Regions from separate parts of the Homo sapiens genome. Here regions 2, 3 and 4 are each linked to region 1. The links are contacts of gene promoters, found by promoter capture Hi-C in blood cells and fetal thymus (Javierre and others, 2016). All regions are on one chromosome and are shown on one strand. Each heading gives the region's core, a stretch centred on a gene start or on the middle of the fragment in contact. The rest is flanking DNA. Distances are from core to core; before and after follow the strand shown.

The links. The method cuts DNA at HindIII sites, captures the fragments that hold promoters and counts their contacts. A CHiCAGO score of 5 or more calls a contact.
Region 2: a fragment that was not itself captured here is called in contact with the fragment with the promoter of UMOD in region 1 in 1 of 17 cell types (endothelial precursors); the score reaches 5.2 in endothelial precursors.
Region 3: the fragment with the promoter of ACSM1 here is called in contact with the fragment with the promoter of UMOD in region 1 in 2 of 17 cell types (M1 macrophages and M0 macrophages); the score reaches 6.0 in M1 macrophages.
Region 4: a contact is called between a fragment that was not itself captured here and the fragment with the promoter of UMOD in region 1, in 1 of 17 cell types (M1 macrophages). The highest score is 5.9, in M1 macrophages.

The regions. Positions count from the first base shown.
Region 1 is chr16:20,351,417-20,354,116 of GRCh38, forward strand. It overlaps UMOD (uromodulin), which reads right to left and starts at 1,299. Exons shown (of 11, transcript NM_003361.4): 1 at 1,273-1,299. The HindIII fragment of the contact is 11,139 bases long and covers 1-2,700 here.
Region 2 is chr16:19,956,523-19,959,222 of GRCh38, forward strand. No RefSeq gene overlaps it. Among named protein-coding and RNA genes, the nearest start is that of GPRC5B, 73 kb to the left of the region's middle. The HindIII fragment of the contact is 2,225 bases long and covers 220-2,444 here.
Region 3 is chr16:20,696,254-20,698,953 of GRCh38, forward strand. ACSM1 (acyl-CoA synthetase medium chain family member 1) reads right to left here and starts at 1,427. Exons shown (of 14, transcript NM_001318890.3): 1 at 1,383-1,427. It also overlaps a transcript of ACSM3 not described here. The HindIII fragment of the contact is 2,330 bases long and covers 518-2,700 here.
Region 4 is chr16:19,932,615-19,935,314 of GRCh38, forward strand. No RefSeq gene overlaps it. Among named protein-coding and RNA genes, the nearest start is that of GPRC5B, 49 kb to the left of the region's middle. The HindIII fragment of the contact is 201 bases long and covers 1,347-1,547 here.

The DNA of each region.
Region 1 (2,700 bases), core at 49-2,548:
GTCCAGGGTGGATGCCAGTATTACCCCAGTGTTTATAGCAGCAAAATAGGGTGGCATGTTGGTTAAGTATGTAGGAGCTGCAGCCTGCACCTGAGGTTCAAATCCCTGCTTTACTGATCACTAACACTGTGATGTGGGTATTTCAGTTTACTAAGTCTCCGTTTTTGTCTGTGAAATGGAGATTGTTGCTTTCACAAACTGAATATCTATGATGGGCCAGGCTCAGTTCAAAGACATTCATGTGCTCAAAGGCATTGGGTCCTAGAGCAACGTTTTCCAGATCTTCGTGACCATGATGTACTAAAAGAAAAACATTTTATGTTGCCAGGTGCAGTGGCTCATGCCTGTAATCCCAACACTTTGGGAGACTGAGGGGGTGGATCACAAGGTCAGGAGTTTGAGACCAGCCTGGCCAGCATGGTGAAACCCCATCTCTAATAAAAATACAAAAATTAGCCGGGCATGGTGGTGGGCGCCTGTAATCCCAGCTACTCGGGAGGCTGAGACAGGAGGATTGCTTGAACCTGGGAGGCAGAGGTTGCAGTGAGCTGAGATCGTGCCACTGCACTCCTGCCTGGGTGACAGAGAGTCCATCCCCCCCCCCCAAAAAAAAAAAGACAGAAAGAAAGAAAAACATTTTATGTCATGATCTAGTGCAGTCGCTTCTGCATGTATGTGCACACACACATAAAATTTTATAAGACAATTGATATCCTTACTACATTAAGTGATTTAATTCTTACCACAACCCTATGAGATAAGTATTATCCTAGTTTGCAGATGAGAAAACAGGGGGACAAAGAGGCTAACTGCTTGCCTCAAATTTGTATTGCTTACTGACATATTCTATTATATTTAATTAAAAGAAGTCCCTGGATATAACCCACAAAAGGAATGATTTTATGACCCGCTAATAAGATGCGACCTAAAACACTGCATATTGTCACTGGGATTAACTAAGATGACATATGTCGAGCAGGGCCCAGCACATAGCAAGTTGTTCATTGTTGTAACCCTGGTACCTGGCACATAATAGGTGCATAACTAATATTCATGGAATAAGTCAAAAAATAGTAGTCATTGTTACTAGGACAGAGAGGATCAAAGAGAGGAAAACTAACTTACTAAAGATCATGAAGCCAATAATTGGCAGAATAATGACTCAAATCCAGGTCTGACCCCAGTGTCCAAGGTCTTAATTTCCTCTCCTACCTCCCTCAAATAGGATGGGGAGAAGCTGGGCTAGGAGAAGACAGCTACAGATAGCCTTACCTGAAGCCAGAAAGGTAGAGTTAGTCTGGTCATGATGTGCCTCATACTTATATATACACATTTGCCCCAGGCTGGCAATCTCTCCTCCAATTAGTCTCTAGTTCTGTTTTTTGATATTGTTTTCTTGGGGGTGGAATATTTTTTCCTCCTGGCATAATGTTTGCCTTGTCCAAGCTGTGAGGTTGTTGTTGTTCTTTTTCCTAATAGCTAGAGACCCCAAATGATTGACATTGGGGGGTCACACCTGTGCCCGGAAATACAAGGTCACTGTTTCGCACCTTCTAACAGCAAGAGATTCCATAGTTAGAAATTAACTGGGAAAGCAGTGCCAAGGTGCTGGGCTTCTTCTTGGTCACTGACAAGGGCAGGGTGGGATCAAGGAGCCAGGCAGAAGCCAGTATCTGAAGCCAGGCTGCATAAGGACAAAAGGGATATTCACTGCCCCAGATGGGAGGTGCACCTGTCTTGGAGAGGGCACCCTTCTGAAACACCCATTCTCATGAGATCAGCCTTAGAATCCAGACACAAGCAAGAGAGGAGCTGAGAATGGCTGAAAGTCAGAACCAGAAGGTAGTTCAGACATCACTGGACCTGACCCACTCTGTACAACAAAGAATCAGGTCTGATGACTGGGAGGTCCCTTTGGAGGCGAAATAAATTTGCACTTAAATAGACTGACTTTGGAGTCAGTCTGCCTCCTTTATCTGGTGTTTATTGTGTGGCAGTGGGCTCATTTCTTAACCTTCCTGAGGTCCAGAGGTCAATTTCCTTGTCTATAAAATGAGAATACCCATCTCCCACAGTAGTAATAGTAACCAAAGGAGATGATGCAAGTAAAGTCATATAGTAATGATTATATTCATGGAAGTAGTGAAAATTCTGCTTTGCTGTTGTGCAATCACTGAGGTAGAAAATGACAGAGCCTGAGTTAAAACCATGTCTTCAGACCCAGTTCAACATACATGACATTCCAAAAGTCAGTGTGAGAGTGGCTGTCATCATGTTGAGAAAAATAAAATATGTGTGAACTTGGGCTGAGCAGGAAAATATCACCATGATCACTGCATTGATCTTTTTTTTTTTTATACTTTAAGTTTTAGGGTACAAGTGCACAACGTGCAGGTTTGTTACATATGTATACATGTGCCATGTTGATGTGCTGCACCCATTAACTTGTCATTTACATTAGGTATAACTCCTAATGCTATCCCTCCCCGCTCCCCGCATCCCACAATAGGCCCCTGGGTGTGATGTTCCCCTTCCTGTGTCCAAGTGCTCTCATTGTTCAATTCCCACCTGTGAGTGAGAACATGCGGTGTTTGGTTTTTTGTCCTTGCGATAGTTTGCTGAGAATGATGGTTTCCATCTTCATCCATGTCCCTACAAAGGACATGAACTCATATTTTTTATGGCTGCATAGTATTCCAC
Region 2 (2,700 bases), core at 82-2,581, 390 kb before region 1:
TTTTCCAGAGGGAACCAACGTATAGTACATCTTACATGTATTGATTGATGCCTCATATCTCCCTAAAAGTAAAAAACCAAGCTGTGCCTTGACCACCTTGGGCACATGTTATCAAGACCTCCTGAGGCTGTATCTCGGGCGTCTGTCCTCAACCTTGGCTAAATAAACTTTCTAAATTAACTGAGACCTGTCTGAGATTTTCAGGGTTTGCAGGTTTAAAGCTTGTCTTAGGTTAAAAGAAAGGTAGAATAAAACTGATGGTTTAAGCAAGTTGAAGAAGGTTTGTGACAAATTAATATTATTAAGAAAATTCTGTGTGTGAGCAAGTTGGCTAAAATTAAGATTATTATTTAGTTTTCCCATAAATTACACATTAAAATAAAATCATATTGATGCAGGGCCAGAATTTGGGCCCATGTGTCAGAACAACAGGGTTTTCTTGGAGTATTGATCTGTTCTTTAACAAAAAATTATAAAGGGTTATAAAAGGTTTATAAAATTCTTACCTTATGGTCAAATGGGTTACAATTCGATAGATTTCCTTATAAAATTTTATTAAAATGAACTTTAGCATTAATACACTAATGCAGAGGTAGCATATGGTTTTCCCTTTTAAGCAAGATTTTCATTTGCCTGCAGGAAAAAGGGAGAGAGAAGAGACAGATTCAGCTGGCTTCATGCTGTCTTTTTTGGTTTTTGTTGTTTGGAAAGCTGTCTCCTCTCTATAAAAGACTAATGGAGTTTTGCTTTTTTGAAATATTTGAGTTAATCACTTTGACTAAAATAAACTGTGGTTCTATTTTGTGATGAAAAGTGTTTTAAACCTTTGATATTTGATTAACTTTTCAAAATCATACTCTAATCTTTTTTTGACTTGATTGACCTTTTTAGATATTAGGTTCCCTGAAGTCCAAAAGAGACGTATCTAGCTTATTTGGTACATAAAAACTGCAGGAAACATTGTCAAATATAAAACGGTGTTTAACTTTCTTTGGGTTATATTTATATGTTATTTGTATGTATCACAAAATTATATAAAATTCCTATAATTCTAATATATCTCAGTATTATGTTGTTAATAATTATGATTATTATGTTAAATGACTGTGTGCCACAGAGATGACCAGATTTCCTTGTCAATTGCATCTTTAACTGTGGCTGCCCTAAGACTTTTGTCCTCTACAGACAATCGTCTTGTTTTGATCTCATTCAAAAGACAGTTTATAATCAGCTAGAAGACTCTGACAGGTACTCTTGAATTCAGGTCTCTGATAACTTTGAGGATTGAGTCATTAGAATAGAGGGAAAAATTTCCAAGACTCTCTTGGGGAGGTAATGTGTTCATAAATATTGAGCAGACCAGAAGTTAATTGCACGGACCAAACTAATAAAAGATTTTGCTTGAAATGTTGCTGGTCCTTTTTGTTTTGTTTTTCAGAGTCAAGAACACTTTTTTTTCTTTTGAGCTACTTTATAAGTTTTAACAATTGAGTAAAGTACGCTCCTGTGAACAAATTTTCTCTGCCTGATTTCTCTATTTTCAAATAGAATTTGAAAACTATTTGTGAGTATTCTTAACTTATGGCAACATAGTTATTTGCGTAAGTGCAATAAGAATCTGTTTTCTTTTATAATAGGACACACTTGGAGACAGTGGTTATTTTACCCAGGCTTTCACTGAAATGACATGCTTTCACATATAAGCAGACTGCTTTAGGGAATCAAAGTTGACTTACAGAGCTGATAAATCTCCTTGGGAGAACTGGTCTCATACCTTGTCTACATAGTCCCTGTATAGGGTACCTAACTGTGGTAAGTAAAGAACATCACTTTTTTTTTTTGAGACAGAGTCTCACTGTCACCCAGGCTGGAGTGCAGTGGCATGATCTTGGCTCAGTGCGACCTCTGCCTCCTGGGTTCAAAGGATTCTCCTGCCTCAGCCTCCCGAGTAGCTGAGACTACAGGTGCCTGCCACAACACCTGGCTAATTTTTGTATTTTTAGTAGAGACGACGTTTCACCATGTTGGCCAGGCTGGTCTCAAACTCCTAACCTCAGGTGATTTGCCCGCCTCGGCCTCCCAAAGTGCTGGGATTACAGGGGTGAGCCACCATGCCAGGCAAGAACATCACTTTCTAACGGGCCCAGAAGCCCCCGTTTATCTTGGGACCTCCAGAAGAGAGGAATTCACCCAACTCATATAAGTATTTGCAGGCACAGATAAATATGTGACTGGGCTCGAGGCTTTAAAAAGTGTCAAATCTGATATTCCTTATGGAAAAAGTTCTAGGAAAGCCAATTTAGAAGACGGTCTGTATGGGAAATAATTATTTTTGTTGTACCTTATGCAAATAATCAGGCCAAGTATAATAAGATCAAAACTTGTTTTGCAAATTGGTCCTGCTGTGATTTGCCACTGATAAAAATGAAAGACTGGATAGAGAAAGCTTATAATATACCTGCTGTTAGATTCTGTTCTTGTTCATTGTTTTTGTTCATTGTTTTTGAGTTGAAAAATTATTTGCTGCTATTTGGATTGAATCTTAAGTCCTTTCTGGGCTACAAGTCTCCAAACTAATGTTTTCAAATTTTTCTTCCATTTTCCTAACTTAACAGGATTTCTACTGTCTTTTTCCTGATTCCCTGCAAGCTAAAGCTTATTCTTTATGATACAGGTGAGAACATGTCAGATTGCCACTGC
Region 3 (2,700 bases), core at 177-2,676, 340 kb after region 1:
TCTATCTCTATCACTATCTCTGTCTCTATCTCTATCTCCGTCTCTGTCTCTGTTTCGATATCTATTTCCATCCACATCTGTCTTCAGATTTGACTTCACAAAGCTTAGTTTGTCTATTTCTCACCGTGCTGGACATAGTAAGTGCTCAACAAAAAGTTAGATTCTTCCCTTCTTTGTCATAATTCAGAAAACTGAGTGATGAAAGTCAGAAAGAGAAAAGCCAGTGTGCCCACAAATTATCTGAGTTATAGAAAAATGTATTTTTTCTTTCTCAAGTATTTACTATAGATGTACCATGTACAGTTTTAGATACTATTGGAGATTAATTAAACTGAAAGAGTTCCTACCCTGTTAGAGCATATCATTAAAGCACATCCTATGAAATCATTTTAAAGAACAATTTTCTGAACTGCTTAAAGTGCATTCTGAAAGCAATTTGACATGGTAGCTTTGAGAGGCAGCTGGGCTCCCCACTGTATTCCCAGATACATAGTGCCTTGAACAGCTCCTGCAACTAAGCTTTGACTTCACAGGACTTGGGACTGATAAAGCTATTTAATGAAGCAACATACTTACTGTGTTATAGGGTATCCCAGAGTTACAGAGCCAGGGCTAGATGTTTGTCTCTGTTGTCTAGCAGCTGGGTCTTTGGTGCTGTTCATGTCTCTGAACTTAAGCGCACAGTAGTAATACCTTCTTCCCAGCTCCCCATAAGGATTAGTGTGATAATTTACTTGCTGGCACTGAATGAAGTGCACGGTAAGGACTCAATAAATGTTGAGGTACCTTTTAACTCCCAGCAAATTCTGAAGCCAACCCCCTCCCCATTAGATGTTAACCATTTTTTTTGAAACTGTCACCTGGACTGGAGTGCAGTGGTGTGATCATAGCTCACTGCAGCCTCAATCTCCTGGGCTACAGTCATCCTCCTGCCTCAGCCTTTCAAGTACCTGGGACCACAGGCATGTATTACTATGCTTGGATAATTTTTTTTAGAAGGCATTCACTTTATAGAAAGTGAGCCAACTTCTGCATAGATAGAAAAGATTTCCTTCAAACATTCATCTCTGACTTTGTGCCTGTCTCCCACGGCTCACCACATTCAGAGCTGCCTGACACTAAACCAGTCCCCATTTACATGCCAGCCACTGTGCTAAACATATTACATGTACGTTCCTATTTATTCCTCTCACCCAATATCACCATTGTCATTTTGCCTCTAAAATGAAGTGCCAAGAAGTTAAGTGACTTGCCCAAGGTCACTCAACTTAAAAGTAGCATTGCCAGAACTTAAAATTGGATTACACACACACACACACACACACACACACACACACACACACACACACACAGATAGAAGCTGACCTTCACCTCTGTCTTACCTGGTACTGTTTAGGACGTAGCTGAACTAGGTCCCTGGTAGGTATGGAAAAGGAGGTTGAGCTCTCTTTTGTAGGTTCAGTTCTCTCTGATCAGGTGATCCGCAGGATTGTGCACCCAGCAGAACTTGGCTTCTGGCCACAGCGAAGGGGGACCTTGAACAGAGAACTTGTTAGGAATTGGGTAATTCAGTAGGGGGAGGAGATGCTCAGGTAAAATAGGACAGAAACAATTACAGGCCTCCACGGAGAGATAATCACTTAGAAAACAAACCATGTGGGCCGGGCGCAGTGGCTCGCGCCTGTAATCCCAGCACATTGGGAGGCCGAGGCGGGCGGATCACGAGGTCAGGAGATGGAGACCATCCTGGCTAACACGGTGAAACCCCGTCTCTACTAAAAATACAAAAAATTAGCCGGGTGTGGTGGTGGGCGCCTGTAGTCCCAGCTACTCGGGAGGCTGAGGCAGGAGAATGGCGTGAACACGGGAGGCGGAGCTTGCAGTGAGCCGAGATCATGCCACTGCACTCCAGCCTGGGAGACAGAGACTCTGTCTCAAAAAAAAAAAAAAAAAGAAAAACAAACCACGTATACGAAGTCACCTCCAATTCCGGTGGCATGGCTAGGGGTGTGAATGAACTAGATCCAATGGTGCATTTTCACTAGTTCTCTGTGGCTAACCTGCTCCCCCTTCCCAGCCCTACATCACCATAGTCTCCCTTAAATGACAGCTGAGAGTCAGTGTAGCCTAATGGATAAGAGCCTGGGCTCTGGAGGTCTGGAGGCAGAAAGGTCTGAGTTTGAGCCTTAGGTCTGCCACTTAACCTCCATGTCATCTTTGTGGACCTTCTTGCTCTGGGCCTCACCTCCCTTAATTGGTTTTCGGTTGCTTTTGAGACAGAATCTCATGCTGTCACCCAGGCTGGAATGCAATGGCATGGTCTTGGCTCACTGCAACCTCCGCCTCCCAGGTTTAATTGAGTCTCTTGCCTCAGCCTCCCAAGTAGCTGGGATTATAGGTGCCCGCCACCACACCCAGTTAATTTTTGTATTTTTAATAGAGACAGGGTTTCATCATGTTGGCCAGGGTGGTCTTGAGCTCTTGACCTCAGGTGATCTGCCCGCCTCAGCCTCCTAAAGTGCTGGGATTACAGGCATGAGCCACAGCACCCAACACCTACCTTATTTGTAAAATAGGAATGATAACAACAATACCTACCTCCCAGGGTGTTTTCTTTGCTTCTTCATTTGTTTGTTAGAACTAGATGAAATAATTTATAAAAAGCATGTAGCACACGGTGCTGGGCATAGTCGATGTTGG
Region 4 (2,700 bases), core at 197-2,696, 420 kb before region 1:
ACTCCTGACCTCAAGTGATCCACCCACCTCGGTCTCCCAAAGTGCCACCGTGCCCGCCTGGCTTGCTCATTTTCAAACCCTTTTAGGCCTCAGTTGCATTACCTGTAAAATGGGAATGACAGCAACTAGCCTGGTAGTGTGGTGATCACCAAAGGAAAGAATGAATGTAACATGTTTGGCCATGGTAACCATTCATGTTAGTTTTCTTTTCTTGTTCCTTTTCTCCATTCATTTCTTCGAAGCTGGGTTTCCTGACCCAGGAGAATATGGACAGGATTTGTGGGGGTGGGACTGGGAGATCTCAGAGCTTTCTATGGTACCTTTTGTATCCTTTGATAGGTTTGACTCTTGTAACAGCTCCAGGAGGTAGGGTAGGTGTCATCTCCATGTAATGAATAAGAAAAGCAAGGCCCAAAGGGATCAAGAAACTTACCAAGGAGTGTCCAGCAATGAGGGTGGAGCCGTGCCTAGACCCCAAGCCTCCTACCTCCCACCTATTGTTCTTTATATAGCAGTGGTTCTCGACTGGAAATGTCCACCCAAGGGGACATTTTGGCCATGTCTGGAGACATTTTTGGATGCCACAATTTGGGGTAGGTGTGCTACCAGCATCTAGTGGGTAGAGGACAGAGGTGCTGCTAAATGCCCTACAGTGCACCAAACAGCTCCTAAAACAAAAATTGGTCCAGCCCTAAGTGTCATTGATGCCGTGGTTGAGAGATCCTGTTCTATACTCGCTTCTTAACTTTATACTGATTATTCTAAAATAATAATGCCTGACATTTTTAAATCATTTACCACGTTCCAGCCGCTGTTTGAACATTTACACCTGTACTTGTATAAACCCGTTTCATCCTCAAACAATCTCAGAAGTAGGTCATAGACTATCCCTATTTGATAGTTGAGGAAACTGTGGTACAGAGAAGTTAAGTACCTTGTCTAAGGTCACACAGTTAGTAAGAGTTCGTATCTGAACCCAGGCAGTCTTGCTCCGGAACCCAAACCCTTAATCTCTCTATTTTGCTGATAACAGAGAAGGAAGGGAATTGGTTATGAATGAATTCAGAAATAAGCCCATCTCCTTTCTCAGAGGATCAGAAAATGTAGTGCAGGCAGTATTTGCTGTTTCGTCTGCCCAGTACTCCTCCCTTCTTCTGGGAATGCTTCATTTTTCTCCCACCTCCAGTCGCTGCCAACCTTCCTTTGTTGAACTGCGTTTGCTATTCTTCCCTATTCCATTCCCACCTGAGGATTCTTGTGGGGATTGTCAATTTCAGGTTTCACCCTCGTAGCCATAGTTGATTGGCCCAAGGGTGAGCACATGACCTCCCATTGGACCAATCAGAAGCTTTCTCTGGGATTCTTTTTGAAGGAGAGGTGGGAATGCAGCGGCAGTCTCTTTTTGTGATTGATAGTGCAGAGTGTGTGTTAGAAACAGGCCCAGAGAAGCAGGAATGCGAGAGTTAGGACAGAGACCCCAGAAAGTATTAGAATGTCCAAGTTTGGTTGTCCCCAGATACTACCCTACCTTTCCCAAGATTGATGAAAGCTTCCATTATATCCTATTTTGATACATAGTCTGTAATTTCTTCCTGTTTGATTTCGAGATCTTCTCTGTATTTAGCACGATGTGTCTGGGTGTGAATTTAATTTTTTTTATCCTGCTCAGGACTTGACTGTGACATGTTTTTCAAGGATTAGGAAAGTCTCAGCCATTTTGTCTCCAAAAACTGGTTCTTTTCAACTGTTTTCTCTAGTCTCTCCTCTTTTGTATTCCTGTTAGATTTTGAAGTATCTCATCTACCTACCTACCTACCTACTTACCTATTTATCCATCCACCTGTCACATTTCTATCTCTTTATCTCCCTGAGCAGAAGGCTCTCAAGTGAAGAGATGGATACAGAGATTGGATATAATGTCTCACTTGGCTCATTTTCTTTCACAATATTGTGGCAGCTTCTCTCTTCGTAGCTATGAGTTTTCTATAATGGAAGATTTATTGCCTTCACTTGGTGTCGACCTCAGGGCCTGGTTATGGTGGGTGGTGTGGCAGGTCATCACCTTGTGGAGGGTTTGGGATGATGGAGGACTTGGGATAATGGAGCCTCTCGAAGGCTTTGGTTGGAGATGCCATTATCCAACTTTGCTGAACACTTATACCTCCTGTTTTCTAGTGAATTGCCCCCGTATGGTTTGCTGCCTTATATGTTTGTATATATATATCCTGCCCATAATTACCTTGCAAGGTTTTTGGTTCTTCTTCTCCCTTTGGTTTCCTCCATAGTGCCTGGGTGCTGGGGGGCATTTGGAATATAGCCAGGACATGTCCTTTCCTGATCATGGGGGTTGTGGGGAGGTGGTTGATCCAGCCGGTGTGGGATTTTGAGGGGCCACTCTCCTTTTTGAGAGGCTAACCAGAACACAATTTGCAAGGTTTCCATGACATTTAGCAAACTTGAGGTTATTGGCAATCCTCGCGAAGAGCTGTTTTAGAGACTGCAGCAGGATTGCAGGGACTGAGAAGTGAAAAAGATAGAGAAAGTACAAATACATTAGGCTCCTTTCTCTGAGAAGCTTGGTTGCAAAGGGGCAGTGCATTTTGTGGTTTAAGTTGCATTTCGTTAACCGTGAATGAAGTAAACCCTTTCCACATTTTGTTAGTCATTTGGATATTCCAGATGTTGTAGTTTAAAGTAGAA